Regions from separate parts of the Homo sapiens genome. Here regions 2, 3, 4, 5 and 6 are each linked to region 1. The links are contacts of gene promoters, found by promoter capture Hi-C in blood cells and fetal thymus (Javierre and others, 2016). All regions are on one chromosome and are shown on one strand. Each heading gives the region's core, a stretch centred on a gene start or on the middle of the fragment in contact. The rest is flanking DNA. Distances are from core to core; before and after follow the strand shown. Region 1 holds the start of COLEC12 (collectin subfamily member 12). Region 2 has its middle 28 kb from the start of THOC1. Region 3 overlaps COLEC12 (collectin subfamily member 12). Region 4 has its middle 44 kb from the start of THOC1. Region 5 overlaps CLUL1 (clusterin like 1). Region 6 holds the start of LOC107985155 (a long non-coding RNA gene).

Evidence for each region. Contacts are between HindIII fragments. The CHiCAGO score rates a contact against its expected background, and 5 or more counts as called.
Region 2: a contact is called between a fragment that was not itself captured here and the fragment with the promoter of COLEC12 in region 1, in 5 of 17 cell types (M2 macrophages, M1 macrophages, M0 macrophages and 2 more). The highest score is 21.6, in M2 macrophages.
Region 3: a fragment that was not itself captured here is called in contact with the fragment with the promoter of COLEC12 in region 1 in 5 of 17 cell types (M1 macrophages, M2 macrophages, monocytes and 2 more); the score reaches 13.2 in M1 macrophages.
Region 4: a fragment that was not itself captured here is called in contact with the fragment with the promoter of COLEC12 in region 1 in 5 of 17 cell types (M2 macrophages, M0 macrophages, M1 macrophages and 2 more); the score reaches 24.1 in M2 macrophages.
Region 5: a contact is called between a fragment that was not itself captured here and the fragment with the promoter of COLEC12 in region 1, in 1 of 17 cell types (M2 macrophages). The highest score is 6.0, in M2 macrophages.
Region 6: a fragment that was not itself captured here is called in contact with the fragment with the promoter of COLEC12 in region 1 in 5 of 17 cell types (monocytes, M1 macrophages, M0 macrophages and 2 more); the score reaches 15.3 in monocytes.

Annotation. Positions count from the first base shown.
Region 1 is chr18:499,303-502,002 of GRCh38, reverse strand. It overlaps COLEC12 (collectin subfamily member 12), which reads left to right and starts at 1,302. Exons shown (of 10, transcript NM_130386.3): 1 at 1,302-1,495. The coding sequence starts at 1,489. The HindIII fragment of the contact is 13,067 bases long and covers 1-2,700 here.
Region 2 is chr18:294,437-297,136 of GRCh38, reverse strand. No RefSeq gene overlaps it. Among named protein-coding and RNA genes, the nearest start is that of THOC1, 28 kb to the right of the region's middle. The HindIII fragment of the contact is 3,078 bases long and covers 1-2,700 here.
Region 3 is chr18:352,007-354,706 of GRCh38, reverse strand. The region is part of intron 3 of COLEC12 (collectin subfamily member 12); the gene reads left to right. Among named protein-coding and RNA genes, the nearest start is that of THOC1, 85 kb to the right of the region's middle. The HindIII fragment of the contact is 4,508 bases long and covers 1-2,700 here.
Region 4 is chr18:310,648-313,347 of GRCh38, reverse strand. No RefSeq gene overlaps it. Among named protein-coding and RNA genes, the nearest start is that of THOC1, 44 kb to the right of the region's middle. The HindIII fragment of the contact is 5,054 bases long and covers 1-2,700 here.
Region 5 is chr18:649,408-652,107 of GRCh38, reverse strand. CLUL1 (clusterin like 1) reads right to left here. Exons shown (of 10, transcript NM_001393344.1): 10 at 1,926-2,210. The coding sequence ends at 2,207. TYMSOS (TYMS opposite strand RNA) reads left to right here. Exons shown (of 2, transcript NR_171001.1): 2 at 2,144-2,488. Among named protein-coding and RNA genes, the nearest start is that of TYMS, 6.9 kb to the left of the region's middle. The HindIII fragment of the contact is 2,566 bases long and covers 43-2,608 here.
Region 6 is chr18:368,969-371,711 of GRCh38, reverse strand. The region is part of intron 2 of COLEC12 (collectin subfamily member 12); the gene reads left to right. It overlaps LOC107985155 (a long non-coding RNA gene), which reads right to left and starts at 2,321. Exons shown (of 2, transcript XR_007066264.1): 1 at 1-2,321. The HindIII fragment of the contact is 1,993 bases long and covers 385-2,377 here.

The sequences.
Region 1 (2,700 bases), core at 53-2,552:
CCCTGAAAGACAAGGCTGGTGCCCCAGTGAGATCTGAAACATGCTCCAGGACCAGGACCCTGTAGTTTCATCAACTGCAGACAGTGCGGGGGAAAAAGCATTTCGGTCTTTTCATTTGTTCGTCATGTTCAAGGTGCCCCCTTATGTTAAAAAATTAAAAAAAAAAAAAAAGAAAGAAAAAAGAAATCTCCTGGAACGGAGAATCTATGAAATGTTTCAATATGTATTCATTTTGGGGCACTACCTTTTACTAGAGCAAAGAATCCCCTACTTAGAGGGAACCAATGGATTGGTTACACCGTGTTACCAAGTCCTCAGGAGGGCAAACTGAAAAGCTGCAAGCACTGCCCGGCCAGTGTTCGATTGCTTTTGGTGGACTAGTGCGTCTGAGTAGCCATCTGTAATGTCAACATGTGGCAGAAAGTTTCTCCGCACCTCCCTCGCCCCAGCTCCACTCACCACTTAGTGTATGTTTTAAAGCAATAAAGCGATGGGTCTGCTTAGAGGGGGTTCTAAAGAGAAAGATAAACACGGGCTTTATTAAGTATACAGCAGGGCAATGTGACGGGCGACCACGAAGGGAACTCAGGGAGCCTCTCAGCAGCCCGGCCTCCTTTCGTAACAAAACTGGAGTCAACCCGATCATTTTAGGGGCGCTGGGTGGAAGGCTGGCTTTTCCAGCCAAGGCAGGATGTGCTGGCTTTTTCTCTGGAGGTGTCCAAGAGCGCAGAGAGAGTGTCTAATGGTGACTTCGGATTCTGGCCACTCGGGCTCTCCCTGGGTGACAGAGAGAGTGTTCCCTGCTGCTTGGTCTCCTTCAGGCGTCAACCAGCGCACGCACTTGGAAACTCTGAACCCGGAGGACGTTCTGTACCTCTCCATGCCCCAGAGCCGTTTGGGGAAGGGCCCACCTTACCCCCCGCCACCCCCGGGGCACAGCAGCTCCCCATCCTCTCGCCCAACACTTGCTAGGTAGTTTGGGGTGTAGAAGCGACCCCAGCAGCAGCGGCACCTTAGGTGCTCGCCGAAGGTGAACGCTGGACCGCCCCGGGAAGGGCTTTGCTCCCGACTTCATCCCGACGCTGGTGCAACGGGAAAAAGAGAGAGCCCGCGCGAGTGGGGCCAGGGCGCGCAGGAGAGGGCGGGCGAGAAAGTGCCCGGCGAGGGCAGGCGCGGGCCGAGGGCGGGGCGGGCGCGGGAGGGCGCGAGAGGGGCGTGGGCGCGGCCGCTCGCTCGGCCGGGTCGGGCCAGGGGGAGGGGCGCTGGGAGAGCGAGAGCGGCGCGCGCGGCAGCCCCGAGGCAGCAGAGCGCGGAGCCGGGAGCGCGGGGAGCGCGGGCCGGCGGCGGCGAGGGAGGACGGGGGCGCAGACGGCCGGCGCGCGGCGCGGCTACCATGGGCGTGCGGTGAGCAGCCGCTCGGGACGACTTCCTCGGCTGCGCGGCGCTCGCGCGGAGCTCCCCGGCCGGCGGTGCGTCCCCACGGTCACCATGAAAGGTAGGGCGGCGGCAGCTCCGCGGGGCTCTGGGCGGGGGGAACGGGCTTCGGGGCGCGCGGGAGGCCACGGAGGTGCCTCCCGCGCGAACCTTCCCTTGGGCTGCGGGCCCGGGGAGTCGGGGCTGCCAGGGCGCCGGGTTCGTGCGCGGACACTGGGGGCGCACCCGGCTCCCGGGTCAGGCGCGGCTGGAGACCTCGAGGTTGGGGTTTTGAAGCGCGCAAGTATTCCCCTCCCCATCGCGTCTTTGCAAGTAGTTTGAAGCCCTAAGTCGTTGTTTACGGATTCCCGTTTCCAACTTTTTAATTGAAAAAACCTGCCGAGGAGAGTGGAGGCATCGCCATCCCTCCCGGTCGCTTTTCCACGCCGCAGCGCTCCCCACGCTCGCCCAGTCCTCTCTCCTCCCGCCTCTAGCCGTTTCCCGGCCCGAGCGGTCCCCGCGCTGGCGGCCGGGTGTTTTCTCCGGGACTGGGGATGTTCTCCGTGCGCCCTCGCCACATCTGGCAATGATTAGGTGCCCGAGGAGTTCAGCTGGCTCGGGAAGTGCATTTGGCATCTTTCTCCATCAGATTCACCGACTGGAAAATAGTTGCCCTCGGTTCCGCGTCCCTTCCACGTGCCCGCCTTGGGGTGTGCCCACTGGTGTTTTGGGGTGACACACCTCAGCTGGTTAGTCGCCCCCTGCGCGGTGTCCTCTGCAGGCCGGTTTATGGAAGTGTCAGATGTTATCGTACTTTAGAAAGAAGCACGAGAAGGACTGCAGGGCAGCCTTCTGTTTAGTGGAAACACGGAGATTTGTCAGCGGAATCCTGATTTATGTATGAGATAAGTAACCGCAGCGGAGGCATCAAAGAGTCGTTCAGGAATGGGCCCGCGTGGTGTTTACACAAGGCTTCGTGTGAGAGTTGCTGGTTCTGTGCTAGGATAACACAGCCCTGCGTGGGTGCGAAATGCCATCTGACCGCGGTCACCCCGCTTCCAGCCGCCACAGACCTGGCGATGCAATCGCTTTGACTTCTAGGGTTGCCGTCCGAGGGAGGCGCCCGGGAAGCCCCAAGGCGCTTGGAAAGTAACTTTTGGCTCTGGAAAGTTTTTTTTCTGAAGGGCAGCTCCCGCGGAACTAACCGGAGCGATGATATCCTACCAATTCACTCCCTTTCCAAGGGCGTTAGGTGTCCACGTCGGGAGACCTCGGGAAGGGAGGTGA
Region 2 (2,700 bases), core at 136-2,635, 200 kb after region 1:
CCCCAAAGCTAGCACCCTACCTGAGCCTTCAAATAATCTTTCCACTCTCCTGTTAGACTAGCTACTTCCAGTTGATCCAATAACTGATAAGAGCAGTGGATCTCATGACCATGTGCCCATTGCTACAATCGGGTATTCTGTAAGTGCTGGGATGGGTGCTAACCGAGACATATGGGCAGCATAGGTAATCGATTCTGATAAAGACAAAGTGAAATTGAAATCAATCTGCTACCAAGTGGCTGGTCTGGTCTCCTTAAGAAATGGTGTCATGGTGAAGGCTCAGCATTAGCTGTCCACATCCACAAAAGGAGACATCCTGTCCACTTTATTGTTCAGAGCTTCCTCTATAGTGGGAGCTCCCTGGTGGGCATTAATTTAATCTAAGTTACAAAGATACACATACTTTGTGTCTGCAACTGTAGGTTCATCCTCATGCTTCTCCCTTACATTTTCTTTTCACGGACCTTCCTATCTGGTTCCTTCTGGGCCCTGACCACTTAAGCAGCCAAGCCATTCATCCTTGCCCCAGAGTCCATGCCAATCTGTTCTCAGGCCATTTCTCCCTGTTTATAAAGTGAACCACCAAGTGTACAGCTTACATTTCTGCCCATGTTCCTTAGGGCCACCCCAAGAGGGACTATATTGTAGCAGCAGTCCATTTTCAGCAAGCACCAAGACCCTGTGATCTTTCTCTTTCACCCTGCTGGTAAGTGGTAGGTAGCTGGTTAATTCTCCTGCCGTGGTAAGTTCAGGGCAGATATGTGATGTGAGACTCTTTGGTACTTAAGTTTGTGCGTTTCCTTGGCAACTTACCCTGGGAGTAATGCGAGGCTGTGGAATCCATAGTTTCTCCCATAAGCTCTTTGCCCAGTGGGTGGTCACTCCTACTCTAGTGACTGGCCAGAACATGACACCCTCTATGGAGCAGATCAGAAAAAATGCCTATAGTGCCAGATCCCACTCTGCCTAGTTTTCAGGTGCACACTTTAGGCTGTGGCTGTTATTGCCCATTTGGAAGCCACTGCTATAGAAGAATGAAAAACCACAATTTGGATTGGGCCAATCCTGGCTCACAAATTGTGTTCCAGCCAGCTGAGACACTGGCATCTCCTAGGAGAAGAGAAAAGTTAAGAAATCTGCAAGAGGTCTGCCTTGTGTTGATTTTTCCAGGGATTTAGAAGTTGCTGGATGCTTCAAAGTATTGAGTGACTAATTTCCCTTCCTTTTTTCTAAAATCTCACATGGTGAGCATTTGTTTCCTGAAAACCTGCCAAAACAATAATTTTTTTCAGAGGTGGCATATTATTTTAAAATGTAAAATGAAGTCCTGATAGCAAATATTATCAATATAGGTACTTGAATCTGCATATAGCAACTTAAGAAGTATTGCCTTCTTTTGGTTTAGGGGCTTGGGGGAGAGAGAGAGAGAGAGAGAGAGAGAGAGAACTTGCAATGTTTCCGAAGTTCTTATATTTCTGAAATTCAGGCTTGCTTATGAGATGAGAACAGTCAATCCAGGACAGTTGGCAACTCCAGGTAAAAATGAGCCTATGATTTTCTTTTAGTTGTGTTATTACACCTCTTGAGCCAGGGTTGCAAACTGGCTGTGTCCTGGAGAAAGAAGAGAACTGGACACCACCCACACCTTCCTTTAGGGAGGCCTCCAGACAGCCTGGAGCAGGGCCATGCTGGAACTGACCATGCCGGGCCTCCCTGAGCTGTCCTGAATCACAGTAGTACCCTCCAAACCAATGTTCACATAAGTCTACTCTGCACAGGCCTGTCTAGGTGCAGATGCAGATTTGCTACATGGGTGCCTGTCCATGTCATAAGAAGTTAGCCAGGAGGATGGTGATAAAACAGTATGGGAAACCACTACCTGTTCTTGCCATTTAGTAAAGGTGTAGGGGGAAGGACTTAAAATTCTTCTATTGGGTACTGTGGTGTGTTCACTAGCTGGGTGATGGGATCAACGAAGCCCAAACCTCAGCATCATGCAATATACCCTTGTAACAAACCTGCACATGTGCTCCCTGAATCTAGAATAAAAATAAAAGGTATGAAAAGAAAAAAAAAGAAGTAAATGTGCACTTAATCTGGAATTTTAAAACATTTTCCAAAAATAATCACAAATCTTATTTTAAAAGAAACTGTAAATGCCTTGTGTATTATGAAATTTCTTTGATTAATAAGTCATGTTATTTATGAACTTTTGCAGGATCAACCTTTCAACCTACTGTACAAATTACCAATTGATCATTTGGGAAAGGAACCAAAGGAAGTCCTTTTCATCACACTAATGCAAAAAGACACACAAAGCATGACCCAGATATTAAAGAGGGGTCAGCACTTTTAGCGGATGCCATTCATGGTTGAACCGAGGAGGCTGCTGTCTGGGAGCCTTAAAAACAAAGAAAATGATGAAGGAAAGGTCGGGGAAAATACTGGCCAGGGTGAGACACAATGGTGAGATCAGGAGGATCTGAAAGGGGTCTGACTTCAATAAAAAGACAAGATGTAGAAGGATCCCATTTTTCTAGCTTCTTCCCCACTCTCCTAAAAATTTGAATCCAAATAGACAGCATCCGTGATTGCAATGTATGTACCCTTTCCATCATGGTTCCATCAATTAGAAGAAGAAGGCAGTAATTAGGATGATACTAGTTGCTATAACAAACAGACCCTTATAATAGTATATAA
Region 3 (2,700 bases), core at 9-2,508, 150 kb after region 1:
AAATGTTGATATTTTCCAGATGTGCTTTCTCTTTACTCACACAGTGACTCCTCTTTCTTGCTGGTAAGATTCTAGTGACCCAATGTTGTAAGAGGCAGAAAGATAAAACCCAGTTCTCCCTTCACACATTCCCCCTTTGAAGTCTAGAGAAACTCTCTCCGTTACAAAAGAAAGAAAGAAAAGAATATTCAATGAAAGAAACACAATAAGGCATTCCTCTGAAGGAGAAATCGAAAGGAAAGGAGTAAAAACTTTTATTTATCAGAGCTGGCAAAGGCAACTTCATACTGTTTTGCTCAAAATTGTTCTTTTCTTCTTTCATGTCACTTACATAGCCACAAGTTAGAATACAATGAGCTTCCATCAAGAGAATTTGCTGAAGAAGCCAGAGAATCGCTCAGTCACCCAGACAGGGTCTGTGCAGTGGTCGTGACTGTGAGGCGTATCAGCCACTTTGCAGAAAACATGTTCTTGGACAGTTGAGCTTGGTACATCCTCTGCCCCGGGCTTTTTATCATTAGTCAACAGAGCTTCCATAGCAGGAGTCATCTCTTAAGTTCAATGTGTCATGTTTCTTCCAGAATATTTCCTGAACAGGAAAATCCTACTCCATTATCCTTTCCAACAGGCAACCTTCTAAAGGTAATTAGGAAAAAGAAAAAAGACAGAAATCTGAATCTTTCTCAATAAGGATCTCCTTTAATTCAACATTCCTAGTCACTGGTAGTCTACTTTGCTGCTAAGCTGGGTCAGTGTAGCAGTTTACAACTGGATTACTATTTAGGCTTTCAAAATACACATCAAATCACACTGGAGAGCGCTTTAGGATCCAGGATAACACCCTACAATCAGATTTTCTGTATTTCTGTAAGGAAACCTAAAATGGTGTTCAAGGTAGAAATGCCTTTATTAAATTCCAGAGGAGTGTAACTAATGTTACTGGGAAGCCCCAGGTCCCAGAGAGAGGAAGTATTTATCCCACAGTGCCATGATCAGTCTGGTACAAAAACGTGTGAGCACCAGCTAGGAGCTCTGTGCTCTGTCCTCAGGGCCGAGACCATGGCCTGTGTCTCTTGAATCCTCAATGTCTAGCACTATGCCACCTACATGGCAGATACTTGGTAAATGTCTGGTGATGTTAACTTTAAAGAGAATATAAACAGAAATAATTCTTCCCCTTAAGGGATTCTTTATTGGAGGAAACCAGATTTAGGAAAAAGAAATACCAAAAGAGAGGTGATACGGAGTCATAGAAAGAGCATGGATTTTGGAGTTAAACCTTCCAGCCTGGTATCCCACATAGTCACTGACAAGCTGTGTGACTTTTTAGCAAGTTACTGAACATCTGTGAGCCTCAATCTCTTCATCTACAAAACAGCAGTTGGAAGGATTAACTGCAGTGATGGTGTAGTGCATCCGGCAAAGAGCAGGCACTCGATAAATAGAGGCTATTATTATTATCATTCAAATAAAGATCGAGTTGGTGTGCAGTGGAATCAACTTGTAGGTGTGGCTGAGTACAATGGGGTAGTGAGGTGTGGAGCGGACCTTCAAGGAGAAGTGGAGTCAAGACGAGGGAAGAAGAAGTTAGTGGCCCAGGCCAAGGGATGATACCGAAGTGCTTTTATAAAAAAGGTTTTATTGTCAGAGTATCCTAGAGAATTATACTTTGGATACTTGAAGAGGGACAGATCTTCAGGTATAATACCTGAAACACCAATATTCTGTAGAAAAATTCTACCTTAAGAAACAATTCCCAATACAGGAGAGCCTATGAGAAACCAGACTGCTGGTCACCCTTCTGTGTATCCTGCTCATTTTTCTCATGTGAGAATGGTCTGCAAACTGAGGTCTATGTCTATAGACTGGGAATTTCCAGGGTAATACAGGATGGCTCTGCGACTGTATTCCTGATTGAGAATTGGTGCTAATAAATTCAGAATAAAAGTCAATGAAAGTGCTGTGTGCTGTTACAGCAAGGGTAAGTTCTGGATCTCCACCAGTCTGGTATTTTTATGCAGTAGCAGGTTCCAGCATTGCAATCCTAACATTTCCAGCTTTATACCAGATCCTATTGTTAAACAAAGACACACACCCCCCAGTGCATGTAAACTGTTCATTAGCACTTGTGGGCAGGGAAAATAGTTTCCTTTTGCTGCACAGAAGAAAACGTCGACAGATTTTTTTTGTTCTTTTTTTTAATGAATGTATTTATCCCTTTTGTATTTATTCTACACAAACCTGAGTTATCTGTCCATGACAGTTCTCTGTTTTTCAAAACTAAAATGGAAGAAAAAGTAGAAAGGGTAGAAAATGACTGACTGTCAGCATATTTGAAGGTTTCTTTGGCTTCCAGGAAAGAAGGGCAGGACTTGAGATCCTGCATGTGGTTTGAGGACAGACCGAGGCATATGTTTTGATTTGAGGATCAAAACTGAACCTAAACCTGTAAACATTCTGTATTTTAGTTCTTAAAAATTAGCTTTGCTAAAAACACATATGCAACATTTTATTCTTGAGAGTTTCCAGGGATTTAGGAGTATGTGTACCTATGAAGCAACCCTAAGGTACAGATTATTAGAACTGCATCTCTCTGTCTATGTAGTAATTTTAAAAATAATAATTACTCAGCGAAATGTCATACTCACTGCCAATGCTCAGGCTTCCCTGGGTTGGTTGGGAAACACGTGTTTGCTTGCC
Region 4 (2,700 bases), core at 190-2,689, 190 kb after region 1:
TTTCTCACTGAGAATGCTTCCTTTCCAAATATTGGAGAGGGATGACATGGGAAAAAAACTAAAATTATGGTATCTCTGCACCTTTAGGCCAGTAAATGCTGGGAAAAAAATGAAGTCGTACCTCTTTGTGTGTCATCTCTTCTTTGGGTATGAGTGTAGAAGTTCCTATCAATTTGTATTAAATATAGATTTGGCTGCTGAAATAAAGACCCAAAGTGATAGCAGGTGAATAAGATAGATGCATCTCTCCCTGGCCCTAATTTTACGTATGCAACTAGCCCAGGGAGCCGCACTGTGACTATCTCGTTGTCCTGCAGTCTCTCAGCCAGTGCCCTCGTTTGCATTGTCCAAAAGGGCTCAGCACCACATCCACAGTCCAGGCAGTGGGCTTAAGAGAGGGGTGATGAAATGAAATTTCTCCCTTTAAGGGCAGAATTTGCATTCGTCATTTCCACTCACATCTCTTTAACCAGAACGTAGTCACATAGCCTCACCTAGTTGCAAGGGAGGCTGAGAAATACAGTCTTTAGCTGGGAATTACAGTTAGATGCCAAGCTAAAAATTCCATGCCTATGCAAGGAAGGAAGAATGGATATGGGTGGAGAGGAGCATAAATGGCATTTGCACCATTCACAGCTGCCCTCCTGAATCCGCCTCCTATGGGACAGATTTTCCACCTTGCCCTCCTGTGGAGACTTCAGTGGATTTAATTACTGGCTCCATTCTTCACAGCTCCCCATATCTACCCTCTTTGCCATGTAACCTGGCAGCTCCCCCTCTCTATGGGAGGAGTGTACTTTCCTGCCCTTTGACTTGGGCTCAGTCACGCGCCTTGCTTTGGCCAATGTTGGTGGATGTGATACAGCCAAAGCCTTGGAAAGCACCAGGGTCACTGGGCTTGCCCTCTTGCATATCTGCCATCACCGTGCAGAGTTCCCCTGGCCTTCGCCTCTGTTCCTGTGGCCAGGGCCCTAGAGTGAACACACCTGGAACAAAGCTGCCCCAGCCAAACAGACCTGTGATGAGAAGCAGAGCCAGCCCAACCTTCAGAGCCTGCAGCAAAGCAGTCCCACCAAGCCCAGCTGAGATCAGTCAACCCAGACTGTGAGAATAAATGCTTAATGCTGTATATATATATATCCCATGGAGATTTGGGTTGTTCATTACACAGCATCATTGGGGCAACAGCTAACATACGGGTCCTTGGGCCCTAACCTAGCAGCTGTCTATGTGGCTCTTTTCTATTTGTCCCTTCAGATCCCATCTCCACACTTTTCCACCATTCTCTGGGCTTCAGGGAGATAGATATTTACAGGTTCCCTTGGCTTCTGGCAACCAGTTGTGTTTGGACAATGAGAGGCACTGGCAGGAGAAAGTGAAGTTGAGGTGTTTATTTCCCTGGTTTCCTCTCTGAAGGTCACCAGGAATAGATTTTATCTCTCTGCCAAAGGCCATATCTCCCATCAGTTGGTCCAGCACTCTCTCCTGCCAGTGCCACTGCATGCCCAGGCTGGAGTGTGGTGGCATGATCTCGATTCACTGTAACCTCGACCTGTTGCACTCAAGGTATCCTCCCACCTCAACCTCTCAAGTAGCTGGGACTACAGGCGCTCACGACCATGCCTGGTTAATTTTTATATTTTTTTAGAGGCAGGGTTTTACCATTTTGCCCAGGCTGATCTCGAACTCGTGGGCTCAAGCAATCTGCCCATCTTGGCCTCCCAAAGTGCTTGGATTACAAGTGCGAGCCACCACACCAGCCTCGTCCGGCTCTCTGTCCAGCTCCAGGAGTAGCAACCTCCTCTTGCCCCTAGTGATACTCTCAGCTGCCATTAGCCAAAGATCCTGCACTATCCTTTGTTGTTTTCCCTAAGGCCTGCCCACATCTTTGTCAATTGCCCCTTTATTAAACTCTCCTCAATTACCCAGCCTGAGTGTGCCATCTTTTTCTTGTGGAAACCTGATTAACACCCCCACCTCTTGACCGCACCCACTTTCATGGCTTGAGGGCCTCTGCTCATCCTATTCCTGGCCTGCACTTTACCACATAATGCATCCCCTTCTTTTCATGGGTGCAAACATGAGTCCCCTTTCAGGGCACAGCCCATATCCCCCCCTTCCTCCATATTCTCCATCTCCCAGCAAGCCTCTCCTAAGATCCACTGCCTGCACCACACCATCAAGGCTTTGTTTCATACAAAAGTACAGCAGTCTCTGAATTGCTCAGGGGGCCCTGGGAAGACTGTGAAGGTGCCACAGTGAATGGGAGGAGAGTATTTGCAGAGCAGGTGGAATTCTGGATCACTAGTCAGAAGGACTACATATGTATGTCATATGTGTGATTTCACTTCAGGTTCACTGTTTCTAAAGAGTTTGAAAATGTTGATGCAGTACACTAGTCTTCAACTTTGTATGGATATAAATCTAATCTACCCAAAATGAATAAAACAAATTTAAATATCTCTCAAATCAAGGAATTTTTGTTCTCCCTTTATTATAAGGCATAGAATAGGGGCCAATGAAGGATAGAAGGATGGATGGATGGAGGGAAGGATGGATGGATGCATGGATGAATGAATGCATAGATGGATGGATGGATGGATCCATGGATGAATGGATGGATGGATGCAGGGATGCATGAATGAATGAATGGGGGGACTTGGTCCTCACCATAAGCAGTTTCTCCATAGCTTCTTCCCC
Region 5 (2,700 bases), core at 76-2,575, 150 kb before region 1:
TTTGAGCCTCACTTCCCCCACTCTCTTTCCACTCTATAAGCTTTTGATAGCTCATTGGATAGAAAATAGGTTCTCTTAATCACTTATTTTTTTGTCACCTTCACTAACAAATATTTAAAATCTATGGTTGAATAGACTGTATTTGAGATTTATTGCACACCGAAGAACCCAGGATTCTATTAGTTCCCTGCCAGGAGCAGTGGCTCATGCCTGTAATTACAGCACTTTTGGAGGCTGAGGCGGGCAGATTGCTTGAGCCTGGGAGTTTGAGACCAGCCTGGACAACATGGAGAAACCCCATCTCTACTAAAAAAATACAAAAATAGACGGGCATGGTAGTACCTGTAGTCCCAGCTACTCAGGAGGCTGAGGTGGGAGGATCACCTGAGCCAAGGAGGTCAGGCTTCAGTGAGCCCAGATCATGCCACTGCACTCCAGCCTGGGCAATAGAGTAAGACCCTGTCTCAAAAAAAAAATAACATAATTCTCATTTTTTATAGCCTTCAGTTATGATTTAGAAAAGGTTTATCTTCATTTGGAGTTAATTATATTCAATTGGCTGCCTCTGAACTCTAACTTTCTCTGACAAGCCTTTCTGTCAGATAGATCAAGACTGGGTGAAAAGTTCTTTAAAAGTTCAGAGTTCTCTCTCTTTCATTACGTTTCTTTTATATATTTATTTATTTATTTATTTATTAAAAAAGAGTCTCGCTCTGTTGCCCAGGCTGGAGTACAGTGGCACAATCTTGGCTCAGTGCAACCTCTGCCTCCCAGGTTCAAGCAATTCTCCCATCTCAGCCTCCTGAGTAGCTGGGATTACAGGCATGCGCCACCACACCTGGCCAATTTTTGTATTTTTAGTAGATACAGGTTTTCACCATGTTGGCCAGGCTGGTTTCGAACTCCTGTCCTCAGGTAATCCACCCACCTTGGCCTCCCAAAGTGCTGGGATTACAGGTGTGAGGCACCGTGCCTGGCCTACATTTCTTTTTATAATTTGTAATACTGACTGTATATACTCTCATTGTAATCCTTAGTGATATATACTGACACATAGCTCTCCTATTATTGTGTTGCACCAAGGTCCAAATTATGAGGTTGAGCGTCAGCCAGGAAAATCTTGTGTTTTCCATAAAATACGTATGTCAAAAGACAGCGCTGTTGTGCCAATTTTAAAAAGTAACTATGTAGCACACCCACGTTCAAAACAGCATTATTCACAATAGCCAAAAGATGGAAGCAACCCAAGTGTCCATCAATGGCTGAATGGATAAGCAAAACTAGGTAAATACATGCAAGAATATTAGCCTAAAAAAGGAAGTTCTGAGACATGCAACAACATGGATGAACCTTGAAAACATGGCACTAAGTGAAATAAACCAGTCACAAAAGGACACTGTGATTGCACCACTGCACTCCAGCCTGGGCGACAGAGTGAGACCCTGTCTTAGAAAACAAAAAACAAAACAAAACAAAGCAAAAGACAAATACTGTATGATTCCACCTACATGCAGTACCTAGAGTAGTCAAATTCATAGAAAGTACAGTCGTGGTTGCTACGGGCTGGGGGATGGGGAAAAGGGAAGTGAGTGCTTAACGAGTACAGAGTTTCAGTTTAGGAAGATAAAAAGGTTCTGAAGATGGACGGTGGTGATGGTTGCACAGCAACGTGAGTGTACTTAATGCCACAAATTGTGCACTTTAAAATGGTTAAAATGGTAAATTAATGCCATGTGTATTTTACCACAATTTAAAAAAAGACTATACAGAACCTATTGGTCTTTACAAAACAAAGCAATGAATCTTAGATTTTTTTCCAAAAAAGTCAATTATATATATTTTAAGTGCAAAAGCAAACTAAAGGAAGAACATTTTGTTAATTAGGAAGTGACATGTTTGTAGATGTGATAGAACATAGACACCTAGGTGATTTAGTATTTATTCAATATACAAAGAACTACTAATGTACCATGAAATGTAATACATATTACGTTTGATTTTTTAAGGAGGAATTTTCATTTTAACTCAATTTGAGTATTAATAGCTAAGCCATTCAACATAAGTAAACTAAGAGTACTTCATAGTATATAGCTAACATACTTTCCTGCAACTGTGTTTATTGCATTATCCTTTTTTATTTCAGGATTTCCAGGTCCCAGATGAAGAGATAATTCTACTTACTGGATATAGGATGCATTAGATCTTCTTACCTTAAAAAAAAAAAAAAAGGCAGCAATGATCAAAATACTAATAAATTACTCACAGACTCAGTGTATTTTTTCTTGGAGTAAAAGTCCAGGATGGGTAATAGAATACCTGCTGTTGGCTTTTGGAAAAATTGGTACTGTATGTAGCAAAATAATGTGAAACCCATATGCATGGATATTCTTAACAATTTGAAGAAATCGTCACAGCTTTCCTGGGTTGTTGAGCCTCTAAGATGGTCTTTTCCTCTGATGTGATAATAAAGTGTTTATTCTGAACTCTACATGCACGTAGTGTTTGGTCAGTAAACTTCTGTTACTCATGACTCATTACATTAGTCAACAAATTTTGTATATTTGCCTTTCACGATGATGATGATGGTAAGAGCCCATCTACAAAAGCTTATTAAAGACTCAGGATGTGCAAGATATTGTGTTACAGCCTGTGACTGTAGATCCCAGGGCCGGCAGCTATGAAACTTGGGGATGGGAAATA
Region 6 (2,743 bases), core at 132-2,631, 130 kb after region 1:
AATCAACTGTCACAAGGCCTGTTACTGCTTATTTTCATTTCCCTGTTGCCGCAGCTCCCCTTTCTCCTGTTCTGTCTAGATAATCAGAAGATTTTCTTCTCTTTCTTTAAAAAAAAATTGTTTCTATCCCCTACTCTGTGATCCTTTCCATCCTACCCTAGGCCTGTGCAGCAGAAACCTTTGAAAGAAGGGGTCCTCCCTGCACCCCAGGGCCCTCCTGGAGTCCTGGCTTTTCCAGCTCCACTTGGATAAACATTTCTCTTCCGTGATTTGTGCCCAGTTGCGGCGTGTCTGGGAAGTGAGCAGGAGTAGAAACAGATGGATCTTCCACGGGCTCAAAGTCAAGAAGATTGACTTCTATGCAGTAGTCCTCTGGATAAAGCTTAGTAAACATATAATCACACCATCATCTGGGGCTCTGTATACCCTAGTAAATGAGTGCTTCTAATTTTATAAGCACTGTCATTACCACAGTTCTACATGAGATTTTTCCTTTGACTGTAGTATATGTTCTTTTGCTTTACTAGGTGTTGTTTATTAGGTGTTGTTTCCCCCAAGTACTGTAGAAAGTGACAGATTGTTTCAGGGCAACCAGTAGGTTGTATTTACAGGTGGTTGGCTGTCTTGACCAGCTTTGCTGCAATAACATAACTGCTTTCCAGCAGGAAGGAACATTGCATAGTAGTGAGGGCTGTGAAGTCCAGACTTCATTGTATTCTTCATTTAGGAACGAACATTTTCTGAATCACTGAATCCTTCTTTTTCAGTTCCTCTTCAGGTCTGTGCATAATGGGAAGGTGATGAATGAGCCCTGTCTTGGTGCATGACAAAGATGCAAAAATGGCATTCCTAGTCCATCATCAGCAGGACCTGAGCTTCTAGTTGCTTTTCCAGAGTAGGGTTGAGAGGCCTGGCTGCCCCAGGCAGGAAGAGCTCTGGCTAGGCACCATTTAGAAGGGGTATGCCTCCTAGATCCATCAAGCTGAGACCATCCCTGGGATCCCGTTGTGTGGTGGACCTCTCAAGACAAGTATCTCTTCTTAATGGAAGGGTCTCTCTTACCACAGGCTGTTTTAAAGAATAATAAGCAATGAACTCACAGTGTGTTCTAAACCGCATGCAGTGTACTGGGAGTTTATGTAAACAAATATATGCTGCAAATTAAAAATAAAATGTATGAGTGAATCCCTAGTGGGTGATTCTGGTACTAATTCCAAATTCCATATTCACCGGGGAAGTGGGGAACACCTTCAGCAAAGTGCGGATTGGACAGTGTTGTTAAGTCCTCACCCAAAGCCGCTTCTTCTTTAAGCCCGTTTAACCAGTTTACAACTGTAATTAGGAGCTGTTTGGCCATCGGGGAAATAAAATTCGTTTCTTTGGGCATGAAATACAATGAAGTGATTATACCATAAAAATTTCATATCATATGAAATTATATATGTATTTTCTGCATCTCTGATCTCCATTATTCACTTGTTTCCAGAGCTGGTGTGCTCCTGGTCACATTTTCTGATTCTCTGCTGTAAGAGCTGAAGTTCAAAAGGCCTTCTGCCTGCACTGTGAATGGCTCAGCTGGTAGAATCTGATTTTTTCCTATTTTGATTTCTGAGTCTGCTGCTTTTACAGTCATTTATGCATCTCATGAATGTAATGAAGTGTTGCTTTCCTCTGAACTCTTGTATTTTTTTCTGCCTTGTAGGTCGGGTTTTAATCCCTGCATGATTTTGAGAGGTAAACAGAATATCTTCCAGATCGGGGTTGCTCTTCATAATCCTTTCCTCGGTGGTGATTCCTCCATCTGAATCCAAATGTGTCCTCCATAGCTGCCTGTCCTAGGCTGATTCACCAGGGCTCCACATCTTGACTTTGCTATGCCACCTCATTTCCACGTGAGAAGGAAGTGCACGTTCAGGGTGGTTGGTCAGAGTTAAGTCAGCCTGTATCCGTGGGGTGAAATTAACAGACATGTGGGAATTGAACCTTAAACATTCTCAGTTTCACTAGGAACCTAAAATTATAATCACGCCACAGAGATTGTAAATTTGAAATTTACCTTGTTTCCATGGAAATTTTGAATTCAAAACATTTAATGTGTAAAATATCACTAGTAAGAGGGCACATAGCATTGGGAGATATACCTAATGCTAGATGACACGTTAGTGGGTGCAGCGCACCAGCATGGCACATGTATACATATGTAACTAACCTGCACAATGTGCACATGTACCCTAAAACTTAAAGTATAATAAAAAAAAAAAACATTATTCCAAAAAAAAATAAAAATAAAAATAAAAATAAAAATAAAAAAAAATAAAAAAAAAAAGATCTGTATCACCTCCGGGGAAGGAAAGGAACGATGCTTCATGTCCAAGCTTGGTGGTGCCAGTGATCCTGAACTTCTCAAGTAATTAGTCTATATGGACAGATTAGTTCTTTACTTGTTTAAATGCAATGGATCAGTTGCATTAAGTGGTATGTGCTCTTTACTTGTTTAAATGCAATGGATCAGTTGCATTAAGTGGTATGTGCATTGAGTGGTAGGCTGGCAAATGGTAAGGGCGCTGAGTGGAATGCTGGCAAATGTTTAACAGCCGGCTCTCCAGAAGGCAAAAGCCCTGATTTGGAGCTTTTTGCTGATTTCAATGGTGTGAATACTTCCAGCATGACCAATTTCATGCTACCAATATAAAGTCACTGAACATAGAGTTGTGAAGAGATAACAACAATTGGGGGTCACCAG